Linked DNA regions of Homo sapiens: all the other regions are linked to region 2. Evidence: promoter capture Hi-C in 16 types of primary human blood cells and fetal thymus (Javierre and others, 2016). All regions are on one chromosome and are shown on one strand. Each heading gives the region's core, a stretch centred on a gene start or on the middle of the fragment in contact. The rest is flanking DNA. Distances are from core to core; before and after follow the strand shown. Region 1 holds the start of ATP8B4 (ATPase phospholipid transporting 8B4 (putative)). Region 2 holds the start of EID1 (EP300 interacting inhibitor of differentiation 1). Region 3 holds the start of HDC (histidine decarboxylase). Region 4 holds the start of TRPM7 (transient receptor potential cation channel subfamily M member 7). Region 5 holds the start of SLC27A2 (solute carrier family 27 member 2).

Region 1 (3,765 bases), core at 496-2,995, 1.2 Mb before region 2:
TACTTTGCTCCAGGCACTGTTTTAGTTGCAACAATCCTATGAGGTAAGTTCTATAATGATCATCTTTTTACAGATGGCCCAGATAAGTGTAGGAGCTTGCATAGTCACCTGGCCAGTCACTGGTGGAGACAGAACTAAACTCAGATGACCTGATTCCTTACTCCAATTCTACCCTCTTTTGAATGGCTACATAGTACTCTTTTGTATCAATATACCTTAACTTATTTAGGCAGTCTCTTATATGTAAGCCATTTTTAGGTGTTTTTTTGTTGTTGCTATCATAGTGCTATAATTAACATATTTAGAGATATGTTTGCACGTGTGTGTGGTTTTCTATAAGGTAAATTCCTAAGAAATAAAAACACATACACATTTCAATACTTGATAGGCACTACTATACTCAGTTTCCTTTAAAAAATATTTTACCAATTTATATTCCCACTAACAGTATAGGAAAAGGAAAAGGCCCTGATTTCCTTATATCTTCTTTAACAAAGGGAATTACCAAACTTATATTTGCCCCATATGATAGGTTTAAAAATGGTATAGAGGTGATACTTAAAAATGTTTTTCACTTAAAAGTGTTTTTTATTTTAAATATTTTAAAGAGATGATTGCTTCCTGCTCTAAGCTGTTCTTGGTCCTCTTTTATCATGTAAGAAAGAAAGCCATCTCTCTTATTTCCAGAAATCTGTAGTTTCTTGTTACTGTGGAACCTTGGTAGGAAAAGGCCCTTGTTTCTGTGAAAACCTGAGGGCCCAGCGTGAGGATGTTCCAGGAGAGTGGAGTTGATGGTGCGCAGGGGATTAGCTTGCTCTGGTTATAGAGACATGATTAAAATCTATTTGATTTCAGTACTTAACTGGCAAATCTGATGCAACTTCTGGAAAATTCCTAGATGGCTTTAGGCATATTTAAAAGAAGCCATATTTTTCCTTTTAAAAATAGATATGCACCAAAATATTTTATTTTCATCTAATCCCGCTTTAACAACCAGAATCCCCTTAAAAGCAATTCCAAACTAAAAGATGTAAATCCATTTCCTATGTGCATTTGTTCTTTGGTACCATCAGGGTTAATGTTTGCATCCTCTGTGCTGAAATTAAGGATGTTGGGAAAGAAGTGTCATTGCTTTGCCTACTAAATGTCACTTGAGTATGCTTAGCTTTCATCCATAAGAGAGCTGAACTTCCCCTGTAAAAAAAAAAAAAAAAAAAAAAAAAAAGTGACAAAAACCCACTGCTGATTCTTTCATCTCTGCAAAAGCAGGTGGGAACTGCAAACAGATTTGCTTATCTTCCTCAGTCAAGGGCTGGTAAAAGTTTGGTAAGTAGGCCTGGTAGCCGGTGTCCCCTTCCATTGTTCATTTTCATCCTCCTGAATTCTTGATTCCCACAGAGGAAGCCATCCTCAGAAGCCAGCCTCTTGGGAGTTTCCTTTTGTTTCCCCAAGATTAACCAGTTCTGTCCTGTCAGCAGGAGCAGGCAACTAGGGGAGGAGAGGCTCTTCAGGGCTTTCAGCATTTTTCCAAGGAGTGCTTTTCTCCCTCAATTCCTCACTGACAGTGAAGCTGCTTTCTTGTAAGGTCTTCCTCTTCTTCTGATGAGATGCTGATTCTGATTGCCATCTAGCAGCTTCCGGTGGTGGTAAGTGGTCAAGAGTGTTTTTCCAGGAGTTGATCTCAGGTTTTTGAGAATGCCCCCTAGAGACCCAGTTTGTTTTCTGTATCATCCCTCAAGCTTTCAGAGTAGCCTTGCTTTTCTCCTTGGCATGGTCACGGAATGGATACCTGTTTGATCTTCCTGCACTGCTGAGAAATCTTCCTTTTGGGGGAGAGGATTAAGTCTGGGTTGAGGTGAGTAGATGGGTAGCATTCAATGGTTAGTGAGATGAAGTGGAAATTTAGCTGTGGGCTGGTTGGAACGATCTGTTTCTTTTCTCCAGATCCCTATTTTGTTTTGCTGTTTTCATCTTGGTGACTAAGGTTTCACAAATATTCTTTATTATTCCCCTTTTGCTAAAAAATAAATTTGGGGGAGTTAGTTGGAAATGGGAGATGTGACATTTTCTTTTTTGTTGTTTGAAATGTCTATTTTTTACTCTGTTAGCATGCCTATTAAATGACCAATGATAGTAGCATAAAGGTACATTTCTTCTTGGTTTGTAGGTCTTTGTCACTTCCTTTGGTAGTAGTTGGTTTTATTTTTTTCACGGGGTTTGTATACAGTGCACCTATTCAATATATTGTTTATGGTCAATTTATGCTTTAGACATGAACAGTTTGCACTGAGCTATCCCTCTGAGGTTTGAGGGTTATGTTTTTAGTGCTAAAATTTGTCTGAACAGAAAAAGGTATCCTTCTAGTTGTTTTGTTTATAGGCAAGAGAGTGTCTCAGGTCCCTGGTTAACAATTAGCTGTTTTGAAGAAAAGAAAACTGGTGAAAAACATTAATTGGAAGCTGAAGTCTTGTTAGAAAGTAAATGAGGAAACACAGGTTTTCTTGTGGGATTACCAACACCTGTGCCCATGAAGTATCCCCTTTTACTCAGCTGTTGCTCCATGCTGGCCTTTACTACAAAATGTAAACTCAGAGTGATTTCAGTTTTGATTTTTTTAAATGTATTTTTTATTTTTTATGTGATATGTAATAACTGCACATATTTATGGGGTACATGTGATATTTTGGTATATGCATACGATGTGTAATTAGCATATATATCACCTCAAACATTTACCATTTCTTTGTGTTGGGAACATTCCAAATCTGCTAGCTATTTTGAGATACAATAAATTATCATTATCTATATCGTTTATTTTATCGTTTATATCTATATCGTTTATTATAAATAAAAAATAAATTATCATTATCTATTGTCATACTACCGTGTTATCAAATACTAGAACCTGTTCCTTCTATCTGACTGTATGTTTGTACCCATTAACCAGCCTACCTTCACCCCCTTCTTCCTCTTCCCCTTCCTAACCTCTGGTAACCACCATTCTCCCTCTCTACCTTCATGAGATCAACTTTTTTAGCTCCCACATATGACAGAGGATATGTGATATTTGTCTTTCTGTGCCTGGCTTATTTTGCTTAACATAATATCCTCCAGTTCCATCCATGTTGCTGCAAATGATAGAGTTTTATTCTTTTTCATGGCTGAATAATATTCCATTGTATATAAATACCACATTTAAAAATTTTATTCCTCAAGAAGAAATATTATTGCTTCCATATCTTGGCTATTGTGAATAGTGCTGCAATAAACAGGGGAGTACAGATATCTCTTCAAGGTACTTATTTCCTTTCTTTTGGATGTATTCCCAGAAGTGGGATTGCTGGATCATATGGTGGATCTGTTTTCACTTTTTTTGAGAAACCACAGAGTGATTTATTTTAACCTATATTGTGCCTTTATATTGTCTCATCATGCAGAAATATTTAAAAATGAGGGAACAAATGATTTTTTTTGTGCCCCTGGAGGATTTTTTTGTGGGTGGGAGAATTTTATTTTTTTCATATGTGGCATATTGAATATTTTCATTTAGTAGGAAAAGAGTTAACTAACCATCTAAAAGTAAATTGGAAATTGTAGCTGTCATTGAAATTAAACTTAATGTATGTTTGGCCAGATGCAGTGGCTCATGCCTGTAATCCCAGCACTTTGGGAGGCTGAGGCAAGTGGATTACTTGAGGTCAGGAGTTCGAGACTACCCTGGCCAACATGATGAAACGCCCTCTCTACTAAAAATACAAAAATTTA
Region 2 (3,888 bases), core at 536-3,035:
TTTGTGAATTAGATAGCTGAAGCTGGATCATTTTCCCTTAATACTGGTTAACACATACAATAGAAAGTAGTATACAGAGAAAGTATGTATGCAATACTATTAGCCAAACAAAATACACAGAACAAGAAATTTTATTATCTCCAATGCTGGTGCATGACAAATAACAAGCTTAATTAGAGGAGGAGACAGAGGGAAACTTCAGATACCAAGGTAATTTCTGGGCAGGTTTAAAACCTTTAAAAGTTGATAGAATAACTGTTCATAAAGTCTTTTTAGATATAGCGCTTTTTACTTGACAACTTTTATTAACAGTTCTTACAATATGAAGTTCAACTAAAGTCCTTCATCTGTCAAGTTAAAACAGCAAGCAAAACAAAATTTCTCTAGTATATAACAGCATAAGCAATGGTTTGTTTTCTTTGTACATTCACACACATTTAGTGTCTAGATTTGAAACTTTTTAATTAAGGATGTCTTAATTTTTGACTTTTAAAAATGGTTATGACAATGGATTTTCTTGATTTATAGATCACAGTGGCTTTATAAATGATCAAGATACATGTACAAACAAAATTTCAGATGCTCTTGGAAACACATCTTAAGATACAAAGCACACGTGATACATATTTGAGTTTACTCATCCATTTATCTTACACTGAAAATGTAGCCTTTGATAACTGTGGCTTGACTAGATCACAAAATAGAATTTTCCAAGTTTTCTTAAGCTTTCAGTCCAAATAACTCAAAAGATATGTGTCCTAGTTGGATACATTTTTTTCTCATTATATAATTAGTATCAGTGGGCTTTTGTATTGGCAGTTTGTCTTGGTCATGACTTATTCTTGCAAAACCATCTTTACAGCAAACAAATATGAAAGATATTTTCCCCAATGCAAGGAAAATAATCTGGATCAATAACAAAGTCAAAGCCATAGGTGTTTTAGGACGTTCTTGATAATTGATTTCAACGGTCTTAAAATCTTTTTTCTTTTTCTTTAATGATTCTCTTCCTTTTTCACAACTGTGCAGTCACTGTCCTATTGTGTTCTATTCTGAAAAACAAATTTTTTTGAAGGTCAAGTTTTTCAATGGCACAAAACTATTTGGAATGAACCCAAAAGATAGCGGAAAGTTGGGTCCCTCCTCAAGTAGTTTCCTCCTCTTTTAACAGCATCTAACTACTCTCTATCAATAATCTCATCACAGCCGAGTTCTTCGGTCAGACGATTGACAACCATCAGTGAAAAAAGCTCTTCGATAAAAGCTAACTGATCAAACGGGGTCTTCTCATAATGCATCTGAAACCCGCCATCCAGGGCTGGTTCTCTTGTTCTCAGAAACATCTTGTCGGCTTCTTCAAGAGCGGCTGATACTCTGTAGCCGGCACCACTGAGCTGCTCCTCTTCGGGATAGTCGTAGTCGTCCTCCCAGTCATCAAATTCCTCGCCCTCGTCCTCGCTCTCGAAGTCTGCGCCCGCCACCTGGCCTGGCTGCTCCCCAGCGTTGGGCCCGTTAGCAAGGCTCCGTTTCCCCTCTGGCGCCGCCATTGGCTGGGCCTCCTCCTCCTCCATTGGGCCTTCCTCCTCGAGCTGTTGGGCCCCGCTGCGGGAGGGACGCAGGGATAGCTCCCGGCTCCCGCTGCCTACCTCCATCTGCGGAAGGTCACCCTCGCCAGGCATCACATCCATCTGCAGGTCACTGCTCTCTTCATACAGCTCGGACAACTCAGCCATTTCCGACATTGTGCAAACCGCTCAACCTCTAGGAAAAAGCTTCCAGCAAGACAGATGCTGCGCGGCCGTGCGTTCGTGCGCGTGCGCAAAGGCTGCGCGCTTGCGTAACCCCGCGCGCAGGCGTGGTCCTCAGGTACCGCCTCCTACTTGGCGCGCCACTGTGGTTGGAGTAGCTCAGTGTTTTCTCCGGGGTGTTGGCGTCGCCTTTTGAGCTACGTTTCCATCGATTCGAACTTCGTATCTAGGGACCCTGCATGCAAGAGCGTAACAGTTTCTGTGTTACTTAACCCTACTGCTGCTTGTAATGCTGCAAACCGGAAAATAACCTTACATGGCCTTCGTAACATTTAATGCTCCTTCCCCCCCTTCCTCTTCCCCTGGGCAATTTACCGATGTACTGATGACTTGTAAATCCACGTCTCCAAACCAGACAACATCCATAACCACAGATCAGCATATTAAGAACTAATCCATTTTGTCCTTTTAGTGTTTTCATTTAAAAAGTTAAATTCACAAACAACAGATATATTGTACTTTTTTTTTTTTTAGTTATAGTGAAGAAATACTTGGTCCCATTTCTTTTCGCCTGGGAGGTATCTTTCCACTATTAGCAATGCGGTGTGTATTCTTTGAATTCTTTTTATTTGCATTTACATGTATCTTTATGTATTGACAGCAAAATACTATTTTGTGTGTTTTTTAAAAACATGTTTTACCTGTTTTTACCTTCAACTTAAAAGCCTCAGGTTTTAAGTTGTATATACTTATATGAATTATATGACTGTGTATACTTACAGGATTCAAGCACATTTCATTTATTCTGCACTTTATTTCTATTATTATTACATTATAGTTATGTAGAATTATACAACTCACCATAATGTAGAATCAATGGGAGCCCTGAGCTTGTTTTCCTGCAACTAGATGGTCCCATCTGGGGGTGATGAGACACAGTGACACCCGAGGTGTGTTCCTTATGTCCGGTCTATTCTGTAATCTCATTTTGGTTGCTGTTACTGTGGAAAATCCTGCCTCACAAAGATAGGATGTTGAAAATGGAAGGAGGCTTTTCAGTACTTTTGTGGCAATCTCAGGATGTTCCGCCTTGACTTTAATCGAGAACGTATGGAGATTTGAAGTTGTCTCAAACATACTTTTAAGGCCACCGTCATTTGCAATATCAAGCAGTTGATCCTCTTCTAGCGTGGACAAAGTGGATTCACCTGGCTTATTCACAAATGGGTCACAGATCCATTCCGTCTTTTGTGGATGAGAAGTGTGATGGTTAATACTGAGTGTCAACTTGATTGGATTGAAGGATACAAGTATTGATCATTGGTGTGTCTGTGAGGGTGTTGCCAAAGGAGATTAACATTTGAGTCAGTGGGCTGCGAAAGGCAGACCCACCCTTAATCTGGTTGGGCACAATCTAATCAGCTGCCAGCTTGGCTAGAATATAAGCAGGCAGAAAAATGTGAAAAGAGAGACTGGCCTAGCCTCCCAGCCTAAATCTTTCTCCTGTGTTGGATGCTTCCTGCCCTCGAACATTGGATTCCCAAGTTCTTCAGTTTCAGAACTCGGACTGGCTCTCCTCTCTCCTTAGCCTGCAGACAGCCTATTGTAGGACCTTGTGATCATGTGAGTTAATACTTAGTGAACTCCCCTTTACATATATATACATATATATGTGTATATGTATGTGTGTATGTGTATATACGTGTGTGTGTGTGTGTATATATATATGTATATATTCCATTAGTTCTGTGCTTCTAGAGAACCATGACTAATACAGGAAGTAATGCTCAAAATATTTTGAAAGCTGAGATAGGTGATCATGCACCAGCTGGGAGAAAGAAGACCCTGGCTCAGTCTCTTTCAAAATCTCTGCTAATGTTTGAAATGTCAGAAATCCCAGTGTTCATTTGTCACCCGCATGATTCCAGTTTGGCTTTGAATGCAGCCACCTTATCTGCCAAGTTGAACACAGTTGTTGTTCGTCCCTGAAGTGACAGAGTTCACTGAGCAGGTTGAATATGTCACACAAGTAAGCAAGTTTTTTTGTGACCCATTCTGTGTCACTGAAATGTGCCGCCAATGGTGACTGTTTTTCTACAAAGAAATCTCTGAAGCAGCTCTCTTAACTCAAAAACTCTGG
Region 3 (4,057 bases), core at 1,530-4,029, 1.4 Mb before region 2:
TTTCAGCAGGGCGCAGTGGCTCACGCCTGTAATCCCAGCTACTCAGGAGGCTGAGGCAGGAGAATTGCTTGAACCCAGGAGGCAGAGGTTTCAGTGAGCCGAGATTGCACCACTGCAATCCAGCCTGGGCCACAGAGTGAGACTCCATCTCAAAACAAAACAAAACAAAGCAAAATAAAACGAAGCAAAATAAAACAAAACCAAAACCCAACAATTTTGAACATTTTCATCTTACCACCCTGCCAAAAATCCCTGTTCTCCTTAGCCATCAATCTTCAGCTCCCTACCCACTTCTAACCATGAATCTATTTTGTAGATTTGTCTATTCTCGATATTTCATATGAATGAAATAATATAATATATGGTTCCTTGTGACTAGTTTCTTTCACTTAGTATGTTTCCAAGTTCATCCATGTTTTGGTATGTATCAGTACTTCATTCCTTTTTATCATGGAATAATATTCTGTTGTATTGATATACTACGTTTCATTCATTCATCTGAACATTTGGATTATTTCCATTTTTGTCTATTATAATAATTCTGCTATGAACACCCATGTATACGTTTTTGTGTGGACATGATTTCATTTTCCTTGGATATACACCTAGCAGTAGAATTGTTGAGTCATAAAGAACTCTAGGTTTAGCTTTCTGGGGAGCTTCCAGATTATTTTCCAAAATGGCTGTGCCATTTTACATTCCCACCAGTAAAGTATGAGGGTTCTAATTTTTCCCTGTCTTCACCAATACTTGTTGTTATCTATCTTTTTTATTATAGTCATCATAGTCTGTATGAAGTGATTTCTCACTGTAGTTTTTTCAGTAGTAATTAAAAAATTTCCTACCTATTTTAGCCTAAAATTACTTTCCTGACTCTCTTCAAGGAGCCTGCCAGAGAATTCTCTCTCTCGTGCTGTCTCCCTTATGCCTGGGCATAAGCTCTGATAATGCCCTGTCTGGGAAAACTCTTTTGGCCTTCTCAATTTCTATTACATTGAGAGCCCAAGAACCCATGGTCAGTAACAGGCCAATGAGAAGCCTCCTGCATTAGTCTAGGTGAAGGATAATGGTGGCTTGGACCGGAATAGGGTGGTAGTCATGGAAATGGGGAGAATTTGACAGACTAGATTTATTTTGGAAATAGAACTGAATCTGAACAGATTGAATTGGGCAGGGAGCAGGGAAAGTGAAGGGGAAGGAAGACACCAGGTTTATGCCTTCAGCATTTGGGTGGATGAATGGATGGATGAAAGGATAGATGGATGCATGGATGGTGGTTGGATGGATGAGTGGTTGGATGAATGGACGGTCAAGGGGTGAATAGATGGGTGGATGGAAAATGGAGAGATGATGAACTGAGATGGGGAAGACTAGAAGTGGGGCATATTTTTGGGGAAAGACAGTTTTGCAATACGTTAAGTTTGAGGTGCCTCAGAGTCATAAGAGAGGATTTGTCAGAAAGGCAGTTGGATATAAGATTTTGAAGCTCAAAAGACAGGGAGGGCCTGATGGTATGTTTAAACCTATACGGATATCACATAGGTAACATTTCAAGCCTAAGAAATGGGCCGGGCGCAGTGGCTCACACCTGTAATCCCAGCACTTTGGGAGGCTGAGGCGGGTGGATCACTTGAGGTCAGGAGTTCGAGACAAACCCAGCCAACATGGTGAAACCCCATCTCTGCTAAAAACACAAAAATTAGTGGGGCATGGTGGCACATACCTGTAGGCCCAGCTACTCAGGAGGTTGAGGTGGGAGAATTGCTTGAACCCGGGAGGCAGAGGTTGCAGTGAGCCAAGATTGTGCCACTGCACTCCAGCCTGGGCGACAGAGCAAGACTCCGTCTAAACAAAACAAAACAAAAAAAGCCTTAGAAATGGGCAATGCCACCAAAGCAGAAAGATGAAAGGAGGGCAATGCCCTGAGGTGTGCCAGCATTGGAGGAAACAAACAGCCAGAGATGTAGGAGGAAAGCCCAGAGAAACTGTGAGCTGCAAGGATGAAGTAGTAACAAATAAAATGCCACCAAGAGAACCAGAAGGACGACTGGAAACAAATAAACAAGAAAGACTATTGCATTTAGCAACGTGAAAACGTTGGATTACTTTTTACTCAGAAATCAAACCCCAAGGATAGTGTTTCCCCTCCCTACAGGGGTTTCTGCAGGTCCCTTTACACGCCCCCCTTCTACTTCTTTAAGTGCTAAAAGTGATTAATTTGGGGTGATGTTTTAATTTCTATTCTTTTTGGCTTATAACTGTGTTTTTTCATTCTTTGCAACAACAGATAGTATGTTGTAATAGAAAAATCCATTGTGGTCAATGATAACTTCTGCCTGTTCCTGGGCACAGGGGGCATCACTATTAGTGCCTGTTCCTCCCTCCCTACTGCTGATAAGGAAACAGGGGCAGGAATAATACTAATAATTTGTGCTACTTTTTCTGCATACCCTTGGCCTTATTCTGGTCTACTGAGCTGGGAGCTTGTCTGAGGCTGGAGCTCTATTGTCTGAATCCAGGGGCAGAAAGAACTGAGGGCTCTTTTACGGCATCCACCTGGAGGCTGCCTGCAGGCTTGGGTTGCTAAGTGCACTGCTTAATTTAGAAGCGCCTTTTATCCTGGCTCTCTTGACCAGTCAAAGTTGTGGTCGCTGTTTTCTACAAGGACTGGGGAAAGAAAGGGTGGAATTAATTAAACCTGGAGGAAGGGACTTTGAAGGGCGGAGCTAAGGTCAAAGAAAGAACCCTTTAAATAAAGGGCCCACACTGGCTGCCAGGGAGTGCGCAGGACTGGCAAGAGGGAAGCCGGGCTGCTCCACGCCTTTCACGCCTTCCACCTCCTGCGTGTCCATCTGTGAGAAGGAGCCAGAGCCCAAGGGAGATGATGGAGCCTGAGGAGTACAGAGAGAGAGGTGAGCAACGGGCATCCCTGGCCCTCTTCCCTGCTGCTACTCCTGCAGGAACGGCTGCTGGTGGGTGGCCCTTAGATTCTGGGGTGACATTTGATGGGAGCATTAGAATTGCCTTCTGAGAGTTGGCACCAGCAACATTTTTTTTTCTGCGAAAGGAATGTGGGATCAGAGTGTAAAACTTTTCTCAACCACTCTTTCATTCTCCCTCTCATATACCCACTCTCACATATGTCCACACTACCGTGCCTTGCTTTTCCTCCCCACTTTCCCACAAAATTGAGGATTTGGATCCCTGAGCCACTAGATGGGAAAAGGGGATTGTTCATATTCTGAAATAGAAAAAAATTTTCTCAATATTCTGTAATCACTGCAAATCCTTTCTTTCTTAACATTCATTCCTTCATGTGTGAATCTATCAGCAGTGTTCTTTCATTTAGTCATTCATTTCATAAATATTTAGTAGGTGCCTACTCTGTATCAGGCAAAACCAAGTGGTTATCCAGTTCTCAGGCATGGATCTCCCTTAGCAGGAAAGTAGGTAGTTGCTTAAAAAAGAATCTTGAATGTCTATTTCTATAATGTTTTATATCCTCCTACTCACTAATTAGTGTGCGTTAGCTTATTCCATTGCTTTCCTAAGGCACTGTCAGCTGAGAGCAAGTTCCTGTGGATATTTATCTTCTGAGTGGAACACAAATACATTTAGCACTGTTCCTGGATCAGTGGAGGGTTAGGTCTAGAGCTCTCAGATCTCTGGTGGGGCCCTGCTGGAGAAGAACCAGGATGTGAGAGGGTTGAAGGGGAGCAGAAGGAAGATAGAATGGTGTGGAAATCTACCTTTGTCTCATAAGTTTTGTCTGGGGTTGGTTCTGTTCTTAAGAACTTTGCATAAGCTGATGCAGAGGGGAGAAACTGAGTCCCCTCTCCTAGGTAAAAGCAGCCCAGGGAGTACTAAGGAATGGATGTTGAGACAGACAAAGAGATATGTACACACACACACATGCACACACAGCAACAGAGGCACTGAAGACTGCAATCTGAAAGAATAAATAATTTGCAATAGTTTCAGAGTGTTCAACTTGACTTTTTTTTCCTTCCTTACTCATATGTTCATTCACTTGATACATTTTTTTTTAGCATCTAAA
Region 4 (3,579 bases), core at 324-2,823, 1.8 Mb before region 2:
AGGAGCTCATCTTGTTTCATTTCTACACCATCCAACTAAGGAGCGAAGCATTCGTGAGTACAAAAAGACCAGAGTTACAAAGTTCTAACGAAACAAAGCACTCTAATCTCATTTTATTTTGATTTTCCAGTTTGTCTGCCTCTACCTTCTAGATTATAAACTCCCTACAGGCAGGAAATGTGTAGGCCCAACTGAAATCCAGAAGATAAACATTTATTGACTGCATGCATAAATTAGTCAAGATGCCTTCCCCAAGGCTGACAATTTAGTGTGACACATATATTAAAACATTTTTAAGTCTTGGTTCTGCTGGACCTGCCAGATGGGGAAGAAATACACAATACCTGAAGATTGTTCACAAGCTGGGGGAACCAGTGGGTGGATTAGTTTTTTTTCTGAGAGAAGATCCTACTTCAGTGAATTGTGGGTCATAATGTTTGAGAGGCAATAATTATGCTGAATGAAAGAAGTTAGACGGAAAAAAAAGGTGCGTGCTGTATGATTCCCGTATATAAAACTTTAGCATGTGCAAACTTATCTGTACTGAAAGTAGATCTGTAGTTGATAAGGGACGTGATGGAGAGGGACGAGATGAAGGGATTATGAAGGGGGGGGAGGAAACTTAGAGGTGAATACGTTCATTTGATTATGGTGATTTCATGGGTGCACAGGTATGTCAAAACTTATCAAATTGGACATTTAAATACGTGCAGTTTGTCATGTCAATTATTTTAAAATAAAGTCGTTTTTAAAAAAGAGATAAGACAGTCAGATCCCTGAGGGTCAGATTGAGGAACTCTCGAAGACTTCAGGAGCAGAAAGATGTTAAAGCAGTTTTAAGAAAATTAAACTGATTGTGGTCTTCCCAGTAGATAAGGAATAACATTTAGTAAACCATTGCTAATAGCCAAACCTTGGCATGTGTGACAGCAAAATAAATGGAAAGGTGGATAGGTACATATTACATCAAGGGAACAACCCAGTTTTTGGTGCAGAAGGTGTGGTGTATGCGTGTATGTGGGTGAGTATCTCTGGAGGGAAAAAGACAGTCCCATAGTTAAACAAAGAAGAATATTTACCGGCAGCAACAGGAGAGGCTAGAGAAAGAACATGATTGGGGTAAAAAGATGATTCTGCATTTTGGACGAGGAGAGAGTAACATTTAAAGCCTCTACTCGCTCTGAAGCACACAGAGTGTGTTGCGACACTCGAGTTTGCTGGAGCGAGTCGGCACAGGCCAGGCCTAGTTAGCGGAATGAGCCCACACAGCAACTCCAGACTGGATCCGCAAGCCTTGAACCTTAACCCTCAACCTCCGATTCCCCAAGTTCCACTCTCGTAGCTGAGGCTGAAGTTTGTCTAAGTCCCGCCTAGGTACCCAACGGAGATACGGCGTGAACACCCCACCACTTTCTGGGAACCCAGAGGCGGTCGGCGTGGCGGCGCGAACCTGCCCAGCGCGTGCGCGCGGCGCGCAGGGAGGCGGCCTGGAATCGAGGGAGCGCGCGCCCTTCACGTGACCCGACCCGCGGGCGGCGACGCACGCGCCGCGCCGCGCCGCTCACGTGGTCCGTCCCCAGCCCCGTCGCCGGCGGAGGCGGGCGCGGGCGCGTCCCTGTGGCCAGTCACCCGGAGGAGTTGGTCGCACAATTATGAAAGACTCGGCTTCTGCTGCTAGCGCCGGAGCTGAGTTAGTTCTGAGAAGGTTTCCCTGGGCGTTCCTTGTCCGGCGGCCTCTGCTGCCGCCTCCGGAGACGCTTCCCGATAGATGGCTACAGGCCGCGGAGGAGGAGGAGGTGGAGTTGCTGCCCTTCCGGAGTCCGCCCCGTGAGGAGAATGGTACTGGACCCACGCAGGCCCGGGCGGGGAATGGTTCTGGGGTTGCGGGCGGTAAAGGAGAGACTTGGCAGGCAAGTGTGTGGGGAGCCGCGTTCCATGCGGCGAAGGACCCTCGAATTGCCTTGAGGCTTCCGGATTTGTCCTCTCGGGACGGGTGTGCAGTTCGTTCTGGGGTGAGGGGCGGGAGCAGGTAGCAAGTTAGAGGCGACACCTCTTCGCGGGAATCCCCTGAGCCGAGACTCGGCTCCCAGCGAGGGCCTCTCCAGGCGGCAGAGGCGCGAGCCCGGGACTACCTGGCTGGGCTCAGCTGAGCGGCCTCAGCGCGCCCGACGCAGGGCTCAGCCTACAAGCTCCGCATCTCCTGGGAGCACGGTCCTCCTGGCGCCAGTTGCTGGCAGATAAGGGAACCAAATGCTCTGCTCAAGTTTTACATGGAAAAAAGGGAGGGAGGGCTAGAAGGGTGCAAAAAGGGGGTAGAGGACACGGGTTTGGAGCAGTGCCTTGTTTGCTGTGCAGCGGATACTCTACAGGTACATTTCCTTTTTGGAACCAAAAGGGAGGGATTTGACAATATTGATGGTAGATCTTTTTTCTTTAGCAAGAATTAAGGATTTTGGTGGGTGGGGGGAGGCTTCTGTGGGGACCAAGACAATGTACTGTCAGTCAGGATTTAAGTCGAACTACCGCATCCCTTGCCCCAGAGAACAGTTGATCGTGTTTTAAACCGAAAGGTGCGGAATGGAGAGAGGGAGGCGGTGCATTGCAGCTTCCGATAGAGCTTTTTATTTTTGGATATCAGGAACCAATTTTGAAGATTTCTTAAGAAAGTCATTTACATCAGGGACATGAAGAGCAAAGTAGGTATTTTTGGTCAGTACTTGAATTTGATAGGCTTTATGCAAACAACTCTCCCTCTGCTGGAGTCTGGCAAGTTTGCTTTTCACTGGACGCTAATTCAAGTGCCATACAAAACTAAAATAAGAGTTTTACTTATAACACAAATGTAGTAATACTTTGAATAAATAATGTGTCTTTCACTATTTTCCACCTTATTCTTTTTTGTTTGTTTGTTTTGAGACAGGGTCTCACTCTGTCGCCCAGGCTGGAGTGAAGTGGCGCGATCTCCGCTCACTGCAACATCCGCCTCCGGGATTCAGGCGATTCTCCTGCCTCAGGCTCCCGAGTAGCTGGGACTGTAGCCACCATGCCCGGCTAATTTTTGCATTTTTAGTAGAGACGGGGTTTCACCATGTTTGGCAGGCTCGTCTCTTAATTCCTGACCTCAGGTGATCCGCCCGCCTCAGCCCCCCAAAGTCCTGGGATTACAGGCGTGAGCCACCGCGCCAGGCCAACATGGGAGATTTCAAACTTGCAAAGATACATTGTAGAATGAACTACCATATACCCATTGGCCAGTTTCAACAGCTTCAACCATGTGAATTTTATTTCTTCTATCATTCCTCAATGGGATAATTTTAAAGCAAATCCCAGACAAATGTCATTTATGGATACTTTATTGTGTTTATGTCTAAAAAGACAAGGACTTTTTAACATAACCACAATATTATTATCATGCCTAAAAATTAATAATTGCTTAGTATCATTAAATATTCAGCATATTTCCCTGATTGTCTCATGTTTTAGTCAGTTGATTTGTTAGAATCAGGTTACAAAGAATTCTGCACATAGCATTTGGTCGGTAACTCTTTCAGTCTCTAGTACCTTCTCTCTTGGGGTGTG
Region 5 (3,766 bases), core at 350-2,849, 1.3 Mb before region 2:
ACCCTGTCACCCAGGTCTTTCAGCCCACTCCTGTGTAGGCCTCTTCTTACTGACTGAGAGAAGGAACCCTTGGTCCTTATTCAAGTGCAGAGACAAGCTCTCTGGGAGGGGAAAGCCATCAGCCCTGTGAGTAACAGGTTCTCTGTCACTTCCTGACCTTGTCATCACTTAAGTTACTGTTTCAAGTCTGGCTGAAATGTGGCAGGAGCTAACCACAGAACTGAAAGGGTCACTATTGTGATAGATGCAGTGGGGGCTCACAACGGTCCTGTAGCAGATCCCCAGTATCTTCTCCCTGGGGATCAGGTGGGGTCACCTTTGTTCTGCAGGGAGGGGACAGGATGCTAACAGCAGTTGAGAGCTGGAAGCAACATTGAAGCCTGCCTCATTAGAGAGGAGCAAACCAAGGGACAGAGAGGAGAAGTGACTTTCCCATGATCACACAGCCAGTCAAGCAGCAGAGGTGAGAAGAGCCCCTCTGGATCCACTAGAGTTCGCACTCAAGATCCTCTGCATTTTAATGCAGATGTTATAAGTATTGATTAAGAGCTTGGAATTTGGAGATAGATGGCTGGGCATGAGGCTTCACCTCTCAGGACCTCAGTGGTCTCATCTATAAAAGTCCTATAACAAAGCCTACCCATTGTGAGGATTAAAAACCACACTGCCTGTAGAGTGCTTAACACAGAACCTAGCACATTATCAGCTTCCACAACAGGTGGTCCTAAAAGATCATTATTTGCGATTCAAGGAAACACTGCCAACCTTTTTCTATACCTACAGTTCCGATCTGAACCTCCCTCTGCGAACCCCTTATGCCACGCTGTGGCTCGTCAGTCAAGGCGCCGAGAAGCCCTGGTGCCAGGGCAGGGCGATCCTCGGGGCTCACCTGGCGACACCAGCAGCACCTTCGCCCCGCAGCACTGGAAGCAGTGCAGCAGGGACTTCGCGCGGATGTTGTAATTGAGGCACGCCATGGCACAGCCCAGCTTCACCAGCCCCAGCCACAGCCACACGTAGGCCGGCTCGTTACCCATAAGGAGCGCCACGCAGTCTCCCTGGCGCAGGCCGAGGTGGTCGTGCAGCGCCCGGGCCACTTGATTGCTGCGCCGGTCCACCTGCGCGTAGGTGAGAGTCTCGTCGCGGAAGAGCAGAAAAGGCTTGTGTGGCGTCTGGCGCGCTTTCTCCAGGAACGCCCGCAGGATGGTGCGCGCCGGCCGCCGCTTCCCGTAGCTGCGCACCCTCCGGCCCACGGCGGCCACCTTCAAGAAGTAGCCTATGTCCTGGAAGAAGTATGGGCAGCAGAGGTTCACCAGGAGCGGCAGGAACAGCAGTCCCGCCAGGACTGTGTAGATGGCGGAAAGCATGACGGCTGCGGGGCCCTCTGTCCCAGCGAGGGCAGAGGGTTCACCCCGGGCGTGCAGCGCGGCGACTGGGCGGGCTCCGGGCGGACTGGCGGGCTGCGCCGGGGCGCACGCGGCGGGACGCCGGGCTCGCGTGAGATGAAGGGGAAGACAGAGCTCCTCCGCTGCAGGTACCGCCGCGGGCTCCGGAGCAGGTGTAGTCGTATGCGCGTTGCCGGGGGTTCCGGGCAGGACTGGCCGGCTGAGCCCGCCCCCTTGTGGGGGGCAGCCACCTGCTCTCCCGGCCCTCCCACGCGGTCCTCCCGGGGCTGGGCAGGCTGCCCTGCGGCTCACCAGGAGCCTCGGCCACTTCCCAGCTCGAGTCTGGAGGTCTGGGGTCAAGTCTGGACCTCCTCGCGTTGTGACCGAAGTACTTTACCTCTAGGAGCCACGGTTTCTTTAAATGGTGATGAGACGCGCTTAGCGGACGTTGGGAATATTAAAGGAGATATTGCAGGCGTGGGGCTATTATTTGTTACCACTAATAGAATGGCTTATGGAGATGACACTGTTATTACCGATAAAGTGCCTTATAAATGTCAGACAGTCCTATTATTTATTAATAGCGGGTACCAGGTGCCACTGCCAAACCAGAATCTCATCTCTCCTTCCTGGTCCCAAGGGCTTTCCGCCTGGTCTCTCTTTGTTTCTCAGATTTGCTTCCCAGCCCGACTGCCAGGCGGTCTCCTGTAGCGAAGGCTTCAAGGTTGAACAGAAATGCCTGTGGCAGTCACGTCCAGCTCATCCCAAGCCCTGCCAGGTGAGTGAGGGCAGGACACTCTAACCTAGTCGGCCCTGCCTGGTCGGGGGAGTCCTGATTTCGTGAAGAGCAGTGCTACACCGCACCACCTGAAATCAAGCTTTGACATTATTTTACGATTTTGTTCTGTTAAGTGATCCTGCTGTTCCCTCATGTTGAAAGTTGTCAAGTGTTGTCAGCACAGTTCACACATTTAATAAGTGGCTCTGTCAGAGAATAGTATAGTACAGAGGACATTGAGTAAGTGGTATTGGCATGACTCAAAAACCATTTCTTTTAGAGGAAATGTGAACCTTTCTTTTAATTTGCCTTAGTGCTACTTCTGTACGAAGTGAATGCTCACTACTTGCCACTGAGGAGGGTCAGGATCTAAGTAGTGTTTTATTTTCATCCTCTACTGTCCTCCTGTGTTCCTCTATCTTAATTTGATACGATAAATACAGATAATGCTTATTCCTCCCAGACACGCTGCTAGGAGCTTCCCTATGTTACATTTTGGGAGCCTGAGTTATTTTATACAGGTGGCACTTTCATGCTCATTTACAGACAAGAAAGGGAAGCTTAGGTGAATTGAGACAGCCGGTAAGTAATTCGTGGGTTTTGGAAATGGTATCTGTTTGGTCCCGGGGAACCAACTCTTAGCTTATTCTTAGTAACTATACTATGCTGTCCTCCTATTCTCTAGGTTTCTGTCCATGTCCTCTTTTTTTTTCGGTGTGTGTAAAACACACAAAAATGTTTCACATTCCCTCCAGGCCACCCCCTGCCGTTTTTTAGCCTCCTTTTCGTATCCCTAGTAACTGCGCAAGCAACCTTTCCCTTTTCCTGACTTTTTCATTTCTGATCCAGCTACCTGGTTGCATCATTTCCCTGGGGATGAGCTGGGGGCCTTCATCATCCCTGAGGAGAAAGCAGTAGAATTAACCAAAGTGAGGGCCCGACAGAAACCATTCTCATGTGCACTTCTTTCATGGTGAAGCTCAGAGCCAGCCCTTCCTTTTTCATCCCAATGCCACCCTCGTCCCTTGATGGCTAATCGCTTCTGTGTAGCCACCTGCACCCCTCTTCTCTTTTCCTTGAACAGCTACTGTCTACCCAGAGTGCTAGATTACCACAAGGGTCCACTTTTTCCCCTCTTATTCTGAGGATCACTTTAACCTCAGTTACAAGTAAAAGAAAACAAGACCCAAGCTAGCTGAAGCAGAAACAGGAATTTAAGTAGTAACTGGAGAGTCCGGGGCTAAGACATCAAGGATTTTAAATGCTGACACCTGGATCTAGTTTTGCTTTCACTATTTCTCCTCTGCACCTCCTCTGTTCTCATTCAGGCTCTCTGGTTTTTGTCCAAAGATGGCTGCCAACAGCCCTTAGGGGTACATGCTTTCTGGCTCAACTTCAGAGAGAAGTACAGGAATCTTTTTCTTAGGAGTTCTCATAAAAAAAAAAATCCCTGACTGGATTATGCGCCCATTTCTGAACCAATGTCTGTGGGTCCTGGGGAAAAAGGTGCTAGTTGTTTTAAGCCAATCAGCGCTCACCCATGGGGGTGAGAGTATAATCAATTTCACCTAGGCCATTTTGTGGAACGTTTTACGGTATTATT

What was found. The method cuts DNA at HindIII sites, captures the fragments that hold promoters and counts their contacts. A CHiCAGO score of 5 or more calls a contact.
Region 1: a contact is called between the fragment with the promoter of ATP8B4 here and the fragment with the promoter of EID1 in region 2, in 3 of 17 cell types (monocytes, total CD8 T cells and naive CD8 T cells). The highest score is 6.6, in monocytes.
Region 3: the fragment with the promoter of HDC here is called in contact with the fragment with the promoter of EID1 in region 2 in 6 of 17 cell types (total B cells, monocytes, neutrophils and 3 more); the score reaches 8.7 in total B cells.
Region 4: the fragment with the promoter of TRPM7 here is called in contact with the fragment with the promoter of EID1 in region 2 in 1 of 17 cell types (naive CD8 T cells); the score reaches 7.2 in naive CD8 T cells.
Region 5: a contact is called between the fragment with the promoter of SLC27A2 here and the fragment with the promoter of EID1 in region 2, in 12 of 17 cell types (total CD8 T cells, total CD4 T cells, naive CD4 T cells and 9 more). The highest score is 16.5, in total CD8 T cells.

Annotation. Positions count from the first base shown.
Region 1 is chr15:50,117,213-50,120,977 of GRCh38, reverse strand. ATP8B4 (ATPase phospholipid transporting 8B4 (putative)) reads left to right here and starts at 1,745. Exons shown (of 28, transcript NM_024837.4): 1 at 1,745-1,855. The HindIII fragment of the contact is 5,193 bases long and covers 1,742-3,765 here.
Region 2 is chr15:48,876,031-48,879,918 of GRCh38, reverse strand. It overlaps EID1 (EP300 interacting inhibitor of differentiation 1), which reads right to left and starts at 1,785. Exons shown (of 1, transcript NM_014335.3): 1 at 1-1,785. The coding sequence starts at 1,742. The coding sequence ends at 1,179. The region is part of intron 4 of SHC4 (SHC adaptor protein 4); the gene reads left to right. RefSeq lists enhancers at 1,531-1,830, 2,101-2,210. The HindIII fragment of the contact is 2,982 bases long and covers 1,775-3,888 here.
Region 3 is chr15:50,264,448-50,268,504 of GRCh38, reverse strand. It overlaps HDC (histidine decarboxylase), which reads left to right and starts at 2,779. Exons shown (of 12, transcript NM_002112.4): 1 at 2,779-2,912. The coding sequence starts at 2,882. The HindIII fragment of the contact is 18,026 bases long and covers 1-4,057 here.
Region 4 is chr15:50,684,791-50,688,369 of GRCh38, reverse strand. TRPM7 (transient receptor potential cation channel subfamily M member 7) reads left to right here and starts at 1,573. Exons shown (of 39, transcript NM_017672.6): 1 at 1,573-1,839. The coding sequence starts at 1,837. It overlaps LOC128092252, which reads left to right and starts at 1,653. Exons shown (of 4, transcript NM_001414947.1): 1 at 1,653-1,839. The coding sequence starts at 1,653. RefSeq lists enhancers at 1,182-1,361, 1,672-2,091, 1,621-2,485 and a silencer at 1,452-1,621. The HindIII fragment of the contact is 16,005 bases long and covers 1-3,579 here.
Region 5 is chr15:50,180,029-50,183,794 of GRCh38, reverse strand. SLC27A2 (solute carrier family 27 member 2) reads right to left here and starts at 1,599. Exons shown (of 10, transcript NM_003645.4): 1 at 890-1,599. The coding sequence starts at 1,367. It also overlaps a transcript of ATP8B4 not described here. RefSeq lists silencers at 998-1,097, 1,368-1,707. The HindIII fragment of the contact is 4,085 bases long and covers 1-2,265 here.